Linked DNA regions of Homo sapiens: all the other regions are linked to region 1. Evidence: promoter capture Hi-C in 16 types of primary human blood cells and fetal thymus (Javierre and others, 2016). All regions are on one chromosome and are shown on one strand. Each heading gives the region's core, a stretch centred on a gene start or on the middle of the fragment in contact. The rest is flanking DNA. Distances are from core to core; before and after follow the strand shown. Region 1 holds the start of RANBP10 (RAN binding protein 10). Region 2 holds the start of AGRP (agouti related neuropeptide). Region 3 overlaps RIPOR1 (RHO family interacting cell polarization regulator 1).

Evidence for each region. Contacts are between HindIII fragments. The CHiCAGO score rates a contact against its expected background, and 5 or more counts as called.
Region 2: a contact is called between a fragment that was not itself captured here and the fragment with the promoter of RANBP10 in region 1, in 1 of 17 cell types (naive B cells). The highest score is 6.1, in naive B cells.
Region 3: a contact is called between a fragment that was not itself captured here and the fragment with the promoter of RANBP10 in region 1, in 1 of 17 cell types (neutrophils). The highest score is 6.1, in neutrophils.

What each region holds. Positions count from the first base shown.
Region 1 is chr16:67,804,838-67,808,610 of GRCh38, forward strand. RANBP10 (RAN binding protein 10) reads right to left here and starts at 1,723. Exons shown (of 14, transcript NM_020850.3): 1 at 1,465-1,723; 2 at 591-702. The coding sequence starts at 1,699. TSNAXIP1 (translin associated factor X interacting protein 1) reads left to right here and starts at 2,052. Exons shown (of 16, transcript NM_001288990.3): 1 at 2,052-2,359. The coding sequence starts at 2,313. RefSeq lists enhancers at 846-1,466, 1,467-2,086, 1,792-2,021 and silencers at 1,442-1,661, 2,162-2,281. The HindIII fragment of the contact is 6,221 bases long and covers 147-3,773 here.
Region 2 is chr16:67,482,216-67,485,988 of GRCh38, forward strand. It overlaps AGRP (agouti related neuropeptide), which reads right to left and starts at 1,332. Exons shown (of 4, transcript NM_001138.2): 1 at 1,302-1,332; 2 at 1,054-1,186; 3 at 810-895; 4 at 356-603. The coding sequence starts at 1,183. The coding sequence ends at 421. It overlaps ATP6V0D1-DT (ATP6V0D1 divergent transcript), which reads left to right. Exons shown (of 4, transcript NR_184227.1): 2 at 1,895-2,113. The HindIII fragment of the contact is 370 bases long and covers 1,645-2,014 here.
Region 3 is chr16:67,544,781-67,548,553 of GRCh38, forward strand. RIPOR1 (RHO family interacting cell polarization regulator 1) reads left to right here. Exons shown (of 22, transcript NM_024519.4): 16 at 1-50; 17 at 176-337; 18 at 596-754; 19 at 884-1,080; 20 at 1,169-1,252; 21 at 1,361-1,451; 22 at 1,586-2,006. The coding sequence ends at 1,683. Among named protein-coding and RNA genes, the nearest start is that of CTCF-DT, 16 kb to the right of the region's middle. RefSeq lists an enhancer at 2,217-2,276 and a silencer at 2,226-2,520. The HindIII fragment of the contact is 5,451 bases long and covers 1-3,773 here.

The DNA.
Region 1 (3,773 bases), core at 473-2,972:
GACTTTAATGAGGACCTTCCTAAAGTTGATCCAACTAGTAGTGTTCAAGTCCTTGGACTGAAAAACAAGTTTATGAGCAGCAAGGTCACCTGATTCTGATCATGTGTATGCTGTTTACCCTGAGATGACAGGCCGGTGGCCACAGAAGCTTTCATGAATGCTGCAAAGACTCTACTATCTCTTTGAAGGCTACCAGGGCCTCCACATGACTAAATGCCATAAAAAAGAACCTCATGAATACAGCAAGAATGTGAAAGGAAGGAAGTCACAAAAACACCACATGCTCATGAGGGAAACTCCATTCTGGACACTAAATTTTTAAAGTAAACTTGTTACTTGTTTGCCTAACCTTCTAGGTATCAAATTACATCATCACTAAAAATAATCCCTGCTTTACCCCCAACACACCCACTGGCCATCAAGATCTGCTGCTTAGACCAGACCATGCCCACAGTCAGGAAATAATGGCAGCCCAGACCCATGCGGCTCCCCAGCTCACATCAGCAACAAGTGCCAGCCAAAGGACCTGAACTCTGACCACAGGGATCAGCTCCATGATCAGGGAAAGAGGGTGGTCATGAAGGGCTTACCCATCTCTTCCTTTGCTGACAATCTTCACTTCAAAGTAATAAATGCCACAGGCAGCAGGTATGGGGTGGGTGGCACGCACTGAGGCCGCATCTTTGTGATTTTTGCCATGACCTAACAGGAGAGGGCAAGTAAGAAATTTCAGCAGAAGGAAATGCAAATGGAAGCCTCATTTTTCTCTGCAACTCCTCCATGACAACTCCACTCCTCTGTGGCCAGAGGACGCACTTACACAGGCCGAGGAATCATTAGACAACTGAATAAACACTTAAACCTTCCACCTTTGCCTCACCTCCTCCTGAGAACAGCAGTCCTGCCTGAGACACTGCCCATACAAACAAAACAAGGGTAGAGGCAATGTGAGAGATACTCAAGTGCTGCTGGCAGCCTCTCTAGAATCCAGGCAGCCCACCTGGGAGGCCAGGGGAAGAAGGATGAGGCCGACCTGGAAGACACCCCCCAAACTCTAGCACGGAACCCCAGGCTCAGTCTAGGATGCCTGGCAGGTGGGGAAGCCCATGAGTCTCACGCTAATGGTAGGTATGTGACCACCCCTTTCTTCTAAGCAGTGGCGAAAGGTCCCGCTGCCGTTGGCGCCAGCCTAGGATAAGCACGGAGGCCCTGGAGTGGAAGGTCCGGCCCAGCACTGGGTTTGGACACCTGTTGCGGTTCTCTTGACGGCAGGTGTCTCAGGACAGAGAACAGGCAGTCAGCCCTCGGCCTGTTCAGCCTCACCACCCTGGACATCCTGAAAGGGCCAAGCCCTAACTTGGAGCACCTAGGCAGGGAAAGGGAGGTGATAGGGCGGGGGCCTGGCAGCAGAGCCACCCCACGGACGCTCTAGCCTTAATTCCCCCCAGCCTGACGGGCCGATACCTTTGTAGTGGACGCGGAGGTTGCCCTGGGAGAGACCAATGTAGTTGTATTTGTCCTTGGGGCTCCAGGAGCGCGGCAGCGGAGTCTCTTGCTGGTTGACCGCGGGATACAGGCGCTGCAAGCGCCGGCTCAGCTCCTGCTCCCCAGGGGACGGCAGCCCGCCCCCAGCGCCCCCGCCGGAGGAGTCCCCAGGCTGCGGGTTCCCAGCTCCCGGGTCTGCCGTCGCTGCCGCCATCTTGGAGGGAGCTACTATTGTGTCACTGGGGGCGGGGAGGAGCGGGACCAGATCCGCCCCGCTCAGCCAATGGCCCGTGAGCCTCCCTGGGCCGCAGGGAAACCGAGTCCGAGTCCGGCACCCCTCTTTGGACACTGACACGCCTTACCACATTTCGAACTCCATACCCCACAATGCAGAGCTCTCGAGAGGCGGAGCAACTCGGGCTGGTAGAGAATTCTGGGAGATGTAGTATAACCGTCCTCAGCCATAAGCCTGTCCCATCGAGACGTCGGGACACCGAAAACTACCATTCCCGCCGGCAAAGCGGCTCCGGCCTCTCAGCACACTTCCCTCCCCATGGCCTCTGTTCATCCCCCTGCCTCAGTTCTGGTACCTGGGGTCAAATCGGCTGTAGTGGTTGACTCTCAGGGCACCCGCTGCCGGGTCCCAGTCCACCTTTGCTACTTTGTCCTACTCCCAGCCCGCGGGCGCTAGGCTCGGGGGCGTGGCGCATCCCTGACTCCGCCCCCGCCGCGGGGGGGCCTCTGGGGCCTGGTCGCCATGGCGACCGGCTGTACGCTACCACAGCTTCCCAGGCCGCGGGTGCTGATTGCCCGCCTGCCCGTGGGTCATGGCCTGCCAGCAGTCGCGGTACCACAGCTTCTCGTCCGCGTCGAGGTAGGCGCTGGCAGGGATGAGGGCAGAGATGAGGGTTTGAGTACTTCTAGAGAGGGAAATGGCACTTGATCCGGACCTCTGCACCTCCTGCTGGCCTCTGACCATTGATCTAGGGCTCCAGCACCACAGAGTCAATGGTTAGAATCGGGCTGATTTAGCCCAGTGAAGACGTTACGTGCTAGCAAAACGGTAGGCGCACTTTATCATTACTAGTAACAACCAGCTTGTATTGAATGTACTATATGCCAAATGCTTTATATACCACATTTTTAAATATTTTATTTTTGAGACAAGATCTCGTTCTGTCGCCCAGGCTGGAGTGCAGTGGCACTACTACGGCTCACTGCAGCCTCGACCTCCCGGGCTCAAGCGATCCTTCTACCTCAGCCTCCCGAGTAGCTGGGACTACAGGCATGCGCCACTACGCTTGGCTAATTTTTGGGTGTTTCTTTGTTCGTTTGTTTTTTGTAGAGACGAGGTTTCACCACGTTGCCCAGGCTGGTTTCGAACTCCTAGACTCAAGCGACCCTCCCACTTCGACCTCTCAAACTGGGATTACAAGCGTGAACCCCCACACCCGGCCTACGTACCATATTTAATCCTCACAACAACTGTATAAAGTAGTAATATTACCATTGAACAAGTAAAGAAATACTTTAGAAGCCTGGAGAGATCATCCTCTGGGTAGCTTCTGCCTGTACTCAGGTGTATAGCCTCTGGGTACTGCAAAATATGACCAGCTCCATCAGCCTGGAGAGCCATACATACGGATTAAAACAAAAATTTTGGCTAAATCGTTTTCTAGTTTTGGGACTTCAGACAGGGCCCTTCAAGTTCCAGGCCTCAGCTTATATATCTCAAACATGGGAATGATACAGCCCACCCCACAAACATTGTTGGGAACATTTAGGCAGAATATGTGAAGCTCTTGACACAGCTCTTGTATGTAATAGGCACCCAGTAAGTGTTGAATGAATGTAGTGTCCCCCCTTCTACTCATTCCCAGTGGGGGAAAAAAAAAAAAACACCACCCAATCCCACCTAAACTCTTCAGGGTCTGCTGCCTTGACAGAGAAAAGCCTACAAAAGCCCCTAAGAGGCCAGGCACGGTGGCTCACGCCTATAATCCCAGCACTTTGGGAGGCCGAGGCGGGGGGATCACTAGGTCAGGAGATCGAGACCATCCTGGCTAACGTGGTGAAACCCGGTCTCTACAAAATACAAAAAATTAGCCAGGCATGGGGGTGGGCACCTGTAGTCCCAGCTACTCGGGAGGCTGAGGCAGGAGAATGGCATGAACCTGGGAGGCAGAGCTTGCAGTGAGCCGAGATCCTGCCACTGCACTCCAGCCTGGGCAACAGAGCGAGACTACGTCTCAAAAAAAAAAAAAATTTAGCCGGGCATGGTGGCAGGC
Region 2 (3,773 bases), core at 580-3,079, 320 kb before region 1:
CTCCTGGCCTTCCCTCTGGTAACAGGATGAGGGGCAGGCTTTGCGTGGAAGTAGCAGCAAGCCCTGGAGCCTAAGGCTTATTTGTTAGCCAGGAGTGATAGCCCCTGTGCCACGCTGCGTCCTGCGTTCCCCGCACTTGCTGTACAAGATTTTCGAAAGCTGGAGTGCGGCTCTTCTCTATTTTTCCCAGGGGCACCAGGACCCCTAAAAGCGCCCGTGTATGTGCCTCCTATGATAGGGTAGCCCAGGCCCTGGGATAAGAGTATGTGTGGTTTCTTGGCTTGGTGACACTCCCACCCCCTCCATGAACCCTCCCTCCTTTGACGGCCACGTTTGAAATAACCACAGCCTTGGGGTTGGTCCCATCCTTTATTCGAGTTTCCTTGCCCCTACCCTAGCCCCGACCCTGACGTTGGCCAGCTAGGTGCGGCTGCAGGGATTCATGGCAGTACCCAGCTTGCGGCAGTAGCAGAAGGCATTGAAGAAGCGGCAGTAGCACGTGGCACATGGGTCACAGCAAGGCACCTGCTGTCCCAGGCAGGACTCATGCAGCCTTACGCAGCGACGTGAGGAGCGGGGCTCGCGGTCCTGCAGGTCTAGTACCTGCAGGGGTGGGGAACCAGCACAGGCCTCTAAAGACAGATCCAGGGATCTTACCTGTCCCAACCTGTGCAGGATGGCAGTGGAGCATGGGAAGGGGTGGTCGGTAGTGTCGTCGCTGGTGAGGGAGTTTGGAGCTGGGGAGAGGAGCTAATACCCAATGCCCCCTCCCAAGGGCCACCACCTTACCCTTTTCCCTGAGCAGTTACCTCTGCCAAGGCCTGAGCCTCCTGCAACAGATCCTCTTCTGCCTGTTCTGCAGTTGTCTTCTTCAGTGGGGCCCGCAGGCCCAGGCCTGGGGCAGAGGATGTGAGGGCAGGAACCCCCATGCACAAAGCACCCACCTCCCAGGGGAGGGTTTGGGAAGGGAGAAAGAGGGTTTATGCCAGGGGAGACTATTTGTGGCCAGAGGGTATTCAGGCCCCGCCCAGTCCCACCCTTGCTCACACTGACCTGGGAGCTCTGGGAGCAGGGCCTGGTCAGGCCTTCTGATGCCCTCCATGGGGGCCAAGCCCATCTGGGCTCCTCGCGTGGCAGGCAGTGCCAGCAGCAGGGCACAGCTCAGCACCGCTGCGGTCAGCATGGCCTGGCTCAGCAGGAAGATGTACCACTTAGTCCCTCCTTATCCTTGGAGTCCCCTCTAGGTGCCCAGATAGAGACCCCACAGAGAGGAGGAGTCCCTGCCCAACCTGAGGACTCACCTCTGCCTCCGGGATTCTTGCCTAGAGAGTTCCCGGCCACCCCGTGCCCTTGGCTTATATGGCAGGGCCTAATGAAGGGCCACACGTGACTGATCCCTGCAGCCAGGCCGTGAAGGACCCTTCCTGGAGGGTGGGGGCACAGTTCAGGCCCTCACTCCCTGAACCTGAGCCTTTTGTTCTACAAGAGGAGTGCCTATCTCCAATTTGGGGTGAGGTTTCCAGGAGCCGATTAAAATTTGGGAGCAAGAGAGGGTGCCCAGGGTCCACAAATTTCCACAGGACAGGGACCTAGGAGCTGAGCAGGGCTAGAACCATTAGCAATAACAAGGCAGGCGGCCCTGAAAGCTTAATTTAATTTGTGGCCCCAGAGATGCTTACTCAACCCCTATGTGGCATGTTGTTTCCTGTGCTTCCAAGAATTCGGGTCAAGGACATTGGAGCGGGTGATGGGCCAATGGCCACTGTTGGGCAGGGGTAGGTGCAGAACCAGAACCTGGGTTTCTTTGGAGGGAAAGGGGAAGGAAAAGCCCACCTAACCAATCCTAGGCCCTCCTGACTACATTTCTGGTCCTCCCCTCCCTTTCTCCCTCCAGGTTTCTCCAAGACCGCCCACTCCTGCTCCTGTCCCCAAACCCCTTTCTGCCTAGGGTTCCTGGAAGCCAAGGAAACAGAACGAACTGTTCCCTGGGTGGGCGAGCCACTGCAGAGTACAAAGCTTTCAGGCCGCCTGCCTCATTAGCACTAATGGCTGCTCCCTTCCGCCCTGTGTCGTCAGGACTGTCTATGCCTGGTCTCATCAGCACAAGGCTGGGGTAAGGACTGCCCTTTTGTGGAGATGGCAGGACATACAGGACCCTGCTGCCCCTGCCTTCCCTCACCCCACTGCAGAGCTGTTTATCACACACGTGTCCATCTGGGAAAGGAATGCAGGCTGAATCAGCTTTGAGAGGATCGCAAGGCCCCAGTGCACAAACTGGGTTGGCACAAGGCAGTGGAAAAAAGATGAAGGGGGCCAGGTATGGTGGCTCACACCTGTAATTCCAGCATTTTGAGAGGCCAAGGTGGGAGGATCACAAGGCCAGGGGTTTAAGACCAGCCTGGGTATCATGGTGAGACCCCGTTGCTACAAAAAATAAAAAAATAGCTGGGTGTAGTGGTGCATGCCTGTAGTAGAGGCTGAGGTGGGAGGATGGCTTGAGCACAGGGATTCAAGAGTGCAGTGAGCTATGACTGCATCACCACACTCCAGGCTGAGCGACAGAGCAAGATCCTGTCTCAAAAAGAAAAGAAGATAAAGGGTGGCCAGGCACGGTGGCTCACGCCTGTAATCCCAGCATTTTGGGAGGCCAAGGTGGGCGGATCACTGGAGGTCAGGAGTTCAAACCAGCTTGGCCAATATGGTGAAACCCTATCTCTACTAAAAATACAAAAGTTATTCAGGCATGGTGGCACATGCCTGTAATCCCACCTACCCGGGAGGCTGAGGCAGGAGAATCACTTGTAACACGGGAGGCAGAGACTGCAGTGAGCAGAGATCGCACCACTGCACTCCAACCTGGGTGACAGAGTGAGACTCCATCTTAAAAAAAAAATGCTATTTAAAATGAAATGAAGCAATCCATACTCCCAACATTTATATATACTGGGACATCCAAGAAATTAAAATCACACCTCATTATGTCTTTTTCTTTGAGTCAGGGTCTCACTCTGTCACCCAGGCTGGGCCTGGTCAGCACCCATGCTATGGAGAGCTCTTCATGGTCTGGTGTGGACAGAGTGGGAGTGGAAGATCTCCTCCCACACAGGTGCTCAGTGTCTTACCTCACCTACGGGCAGCAGCTGTCTTCACCTGAGTGTGTGCACACAGGTGTATCAGCCCCATGGGCAGTGATGGACGAGGGCTGAGGCACTCACAGGGCAGCCCATGCCCCGGTCAGGTCCAGTGGGGGAGATATCAAGAAAACCCAGCGCCAAAATGCAATGAGCTGTGATCGCGCTACTGCACTCCAGCCTGGGCGACAAAGCAAGTTGCCGTCTCAAAAAACAAAAACAAAACTAAACAAAAAAAAAAAAACGGCCAGGTGTAGTGATTCACACCTTCTTGAGCCCAGGAGTGGCAACATAGTGAGACTCTGTCTCTACCAAAAAAAAAAAATTTAATTAGCTGAATGTGGTGATGCACACCTGTAGTCCCAGCTACTCAGGAGACAGGGAGGAGGATAGCTTCGGCCCAGGAGATTGAGGCTGCAGTGAGCCATGGTGGTGGTGGCTCACGCCTATAATCCCAGCACTTTGGGAGGCTGAGGCAGGCAGATCACTTGAGCCTAGGAATTCGAGGCCAGCCTGGGCAACATGGCGAAACCCAGTCCCCATTAAAAAAAAAAAAAAAAAAGGCCAGGTGCGGTGGCTCACGCCTGTAATCCCAGCACTTTGGGAGGCCGAGGTGGGCAGATCACAAGGTCAGGAGATGGA
Region 3 (3,773 bases), core at 918-3,417, 260 kb before region 1:
ATGCGAGTTCAGCAGGCGGTGGGAGATCCCGGCCAGCTCTGCCCAGGAAGGTAAAGGCCCTGGGGGTTCGGGCTCTGCCATCTGCCTTGAAGCTCCTACCTCAGCCTACTGCCATCTGCATGCTCTCTACTCACCTGCCTGCCTGTTGCTGACGGTTTCCCTCACCCCCTCACAGTGGTGCAGTTCTCGGCCTCTCGGCCTGGCTTCCTGACCTTCTGGGACCAGTGCACAGAGAGACTCAGCTGCTTCCTCTGCCCGGTGGAGCGGGTGCTTCTCACCTTCTGCAACCAGTATGGTGCCCGCCTCTCCCTGCGCCAGCCAGGCTTGGCTGAGGCTGGTGAGTGGGCTGCTTCCTCCTTCCACCCTTGCTCAGATTCCCAGTGACAGGAAGCTCGGGGAAGCCAGGTCAGCCCACACAGATAAACGAACTGGGCACCGAGGAGACCAGCAAAGACTTGGGCCTTAGAGCAGAAGGACCCAGATGGGTGGGGTTTGAACAGGGGGCCCCTGGACCTGAGCCTGGGATAGGAGCATCTCTCCCCTCTAAAAGCTGTGTTCACCCAAACTCTGAGGCCCATGCTACTGCCTCCTGCAGTGTGTGTGAAGTTCCTGGAGGATGCCCTGGGGCAGAAGCTGCCCAGAAGGCCCCAGCCAGGGCCTGGAGAGCAGCTCACAGTCTTCCAGTTCTGGAGTTTTGTGGAAACCTTGGACAGCCCCACCATGGAGGCCTACGTGACTGAGACCGCTGAGGAGGGTGAGGCGGTGGCCCTGATCACATAGTGGCCTCTTGGGGTCTGAGGACATGAGGACAAGCCCTCCCCAACCTCGGGGGCTCCTCACCCTGCCACCTTGCCCACCCACCCACCATATCCCCTTTTTTCAGTGCTACTGGTGCGGAATCTGAACTCGGATGATCAGGCTGTTGTGCTGAAGGCCCTGAGATTGGCGCCCGAGGGGCGTCTGCGAAGGGACGGGCTGCGGGCCCTCAGCTCCCTGCTCGTCCATGGCAACAACAAGGTCATGGCTGCTGTCAGCACCCAGCTCCGGAGCCTGTCACTGGGCCCTACCTTCCGGGAGAGGGTGAGTTGGACAGGGCTCCCTTGAGGGCGAGGGCTGGGGTCCTGGACTCCCACTGTCTGGCTAAGTCTGTCCTCCCACCCTTCCACAGGCCCTCCTGTGCTTCCTGGACCAGCTGGAGGATGAGGACGTGCAGACTCGAGTGGCTGGCTGCCTGGCCCTAGGCTGCATCAAGGTGACCCCTGCCAACCCTCCCACCCCTCTGTCCGCTTCCGGCACCCCCACCCCTGAAACCCTCCCATCTGCTCCCCTGAGCCCACCTCAATGCTCCCTCCCCTGACAGGCTCCCGAGGGCATTGAGCCCCTGGTGTACCTCTGCCAAACTGACACAGAAGCTGTGAGGGAAGCTGCCCGGCAAAGCCTACAGCAGTGTGGTGAGGCTGGGGGATGGAAGAGATGGGTGGAGTTCTGGGACATCTTGGCTGATGGGAGTAGGAGAGATGGCGCCAGGGGTGGGAGAGTGGGATGGGGCTAGGGCCACCCTTGACCTCATCCTCACTCATTACAGGAGAAGAGGGACAGTCTGCCCATCGACGGCTGGAGGAGTCCCTGGACGCCCTGCCCCGCATCTTTGGGCCTGGCAGCATGGCCAGCACAGCATTCTAAACTATTCACCCATGGGTTCCTGGTGCCCCTTTCCCCCCACTTTCAGGGCTCACCAGGCACTGGCAGGGAGGGTAAGGGCTGGCTCCAGATACCCCTCCCCCACAGATTCCTAGCAATGAAAATCTAATATATTCTTCTGTTGCCCCTGGGGTTGGAGAGTCAGTGCCTGCAGTCAAGTGCCTCCCAGCCTCGGCTCAGCACATCCCTTGCCACAAATCAGTGTCTGGGGCTTGGCCACCCTGCCGCTGCCCAGCCACATCCCTTGGTTTTGTATTTTATTTACAGAGTTTTACAGAAAATAAAAAAGCAAAATGTCTTTCCTACATGGCCTGGTACACTCCTGACCCTCTGCTCCAACACCCTCTGGCTGTGGCCCTGCCTGACACTGGTGTGTTCACACTGCAGCTGTGACAGTGCCATGTGCACTTGCCCTGGAAATTCAGGTGGAAGAAAGCCCAGAGGCTGGAACTGGGCTTGGAGAAGAGAGCAGGGGAAAAGGGTGGTTCAGCCTGCAGGTGGGGCCTACCCTGGGCCTGGGAACTACGGCCCAAGGTGGAGCTAAACTGGAGTTGGCCCAGAAAACACCAAAGGGTGCCAATCCCAGGCTGTGGCCTGGGAGCAAAGGGGAAGGGAAAGGAAAAACAGGAAGGGAAAGGAGGCACGGGGTGGCTGGAGCTTCTGCCCACCAGGGGGCAGCAGATCCGCGTCAGCAGATGCCAGGTTTGGGTCTTCTGCAGCCTGGGCAGCTTTCTGCAGAGGGGGCTGAAGGAGCTCCTTGAAGCTGGATGGCAGGGGAGAGGAGCTCCTTGCGGAGGGGAAGAGCTGGGACCTGGGAGGCAGGAGACCTGGATGGCTAACCTGTGACCCAAGACAGCAAGTCCCTTCCCTCTCCAGCTGTCTCCCCCTCTATAATAACAAACGTGCCTGAACTCTGTGATCCCCAACAGCCGGCCAACCTGTGCTGCTTCAGGAAGCAGAGATCCCAGGAGAGGGCTTGCCTTTGCCCCGCCTCGCCTTGCCCCAGAGCTGCCTGGCCAGTGAATGTGTTAACCCCAGAAGGCTGAGTCCTGCGTGAGGAACTGGAGTGTGGGGTGGGACTTCAGGATGGCAGGCCTGTTCTAAGGAGGGGCTGAGGGAGGCCCACACCCGTGGCTAGAGAAACAGGCTCTCCACCCTTCCCCTCTCCCTCAGCACTTCCAGTATCCAGGGGCAAGGAGGTGGTGCATACGCAGCACTTCCCTGACTCATTGAGGCCACTCTGATGTCCCAGTACCTGTGGCAGCAGCTTGGCCTGTGCAGGACGTGTCACGTTGGGGAGCCTGCCCTCAGGAAGAGCCAGTGAAGTGCCAACAGTCCTCTGGAGGGTGACCCAGATCCCCAGGGAGCCCTGCCCCCCAGTGTTTTAGAGCTAGGTATGAAGAGGTTTGGCTGGGGCTTTAACCACCTGCTGGGGAAGCCAAGCTGAGCAGAAAAAACGGCAACAGGAAGAAGCACAGGAAGCACCTGTGTGGATGCAAGTGGCTCATTCCAGACGCTGGGGCGAGGGTGGGCAGGGGCAGGCAGGCAGCCCTCTGCACACTGGCGCGGCTCTTTGCTCTCTGGGTAACGAAGGGTGGCACGGGATGGTGCAGCTCAGTATTTGGGGTGGTGAGCTGGAGCAGCATGGGGCAGAGGAGGCAAACAAATGATGGAGACCAGGCCAGCACCCAAGGCTGGCCACAGCTGGGGCCTGCCCCAGGGGTCCCTGGAGGAGGCCGGCAATCCCAGAACCGCCCCTAGCAGCCCTCAGTCCTGAGGCCCCCACAAGAGGCCCATTGGTAGAGCAGGGCTATCCACCTGCATCAAAAGCATAGCCTGTCATGGTGGGGGAAGAGGAAGTGAACACTGGTTGACCAGGTCCTGGGAAAGTGCAGATGGGGGTGACTGAGCCTGCATGAGCTCACAGCTCAGTACACAGGAGAGAGCAGGGCTTGGGCAAGAAATGGAGGATGGAAAAATGTCATCATCCCAGCCAAGGGGTCCACTGGCGTTGTCACTAAGAATCCCTGCTCTCCAATGCTGGGAAGGGACAGACCCTAGACTCTGTGCTC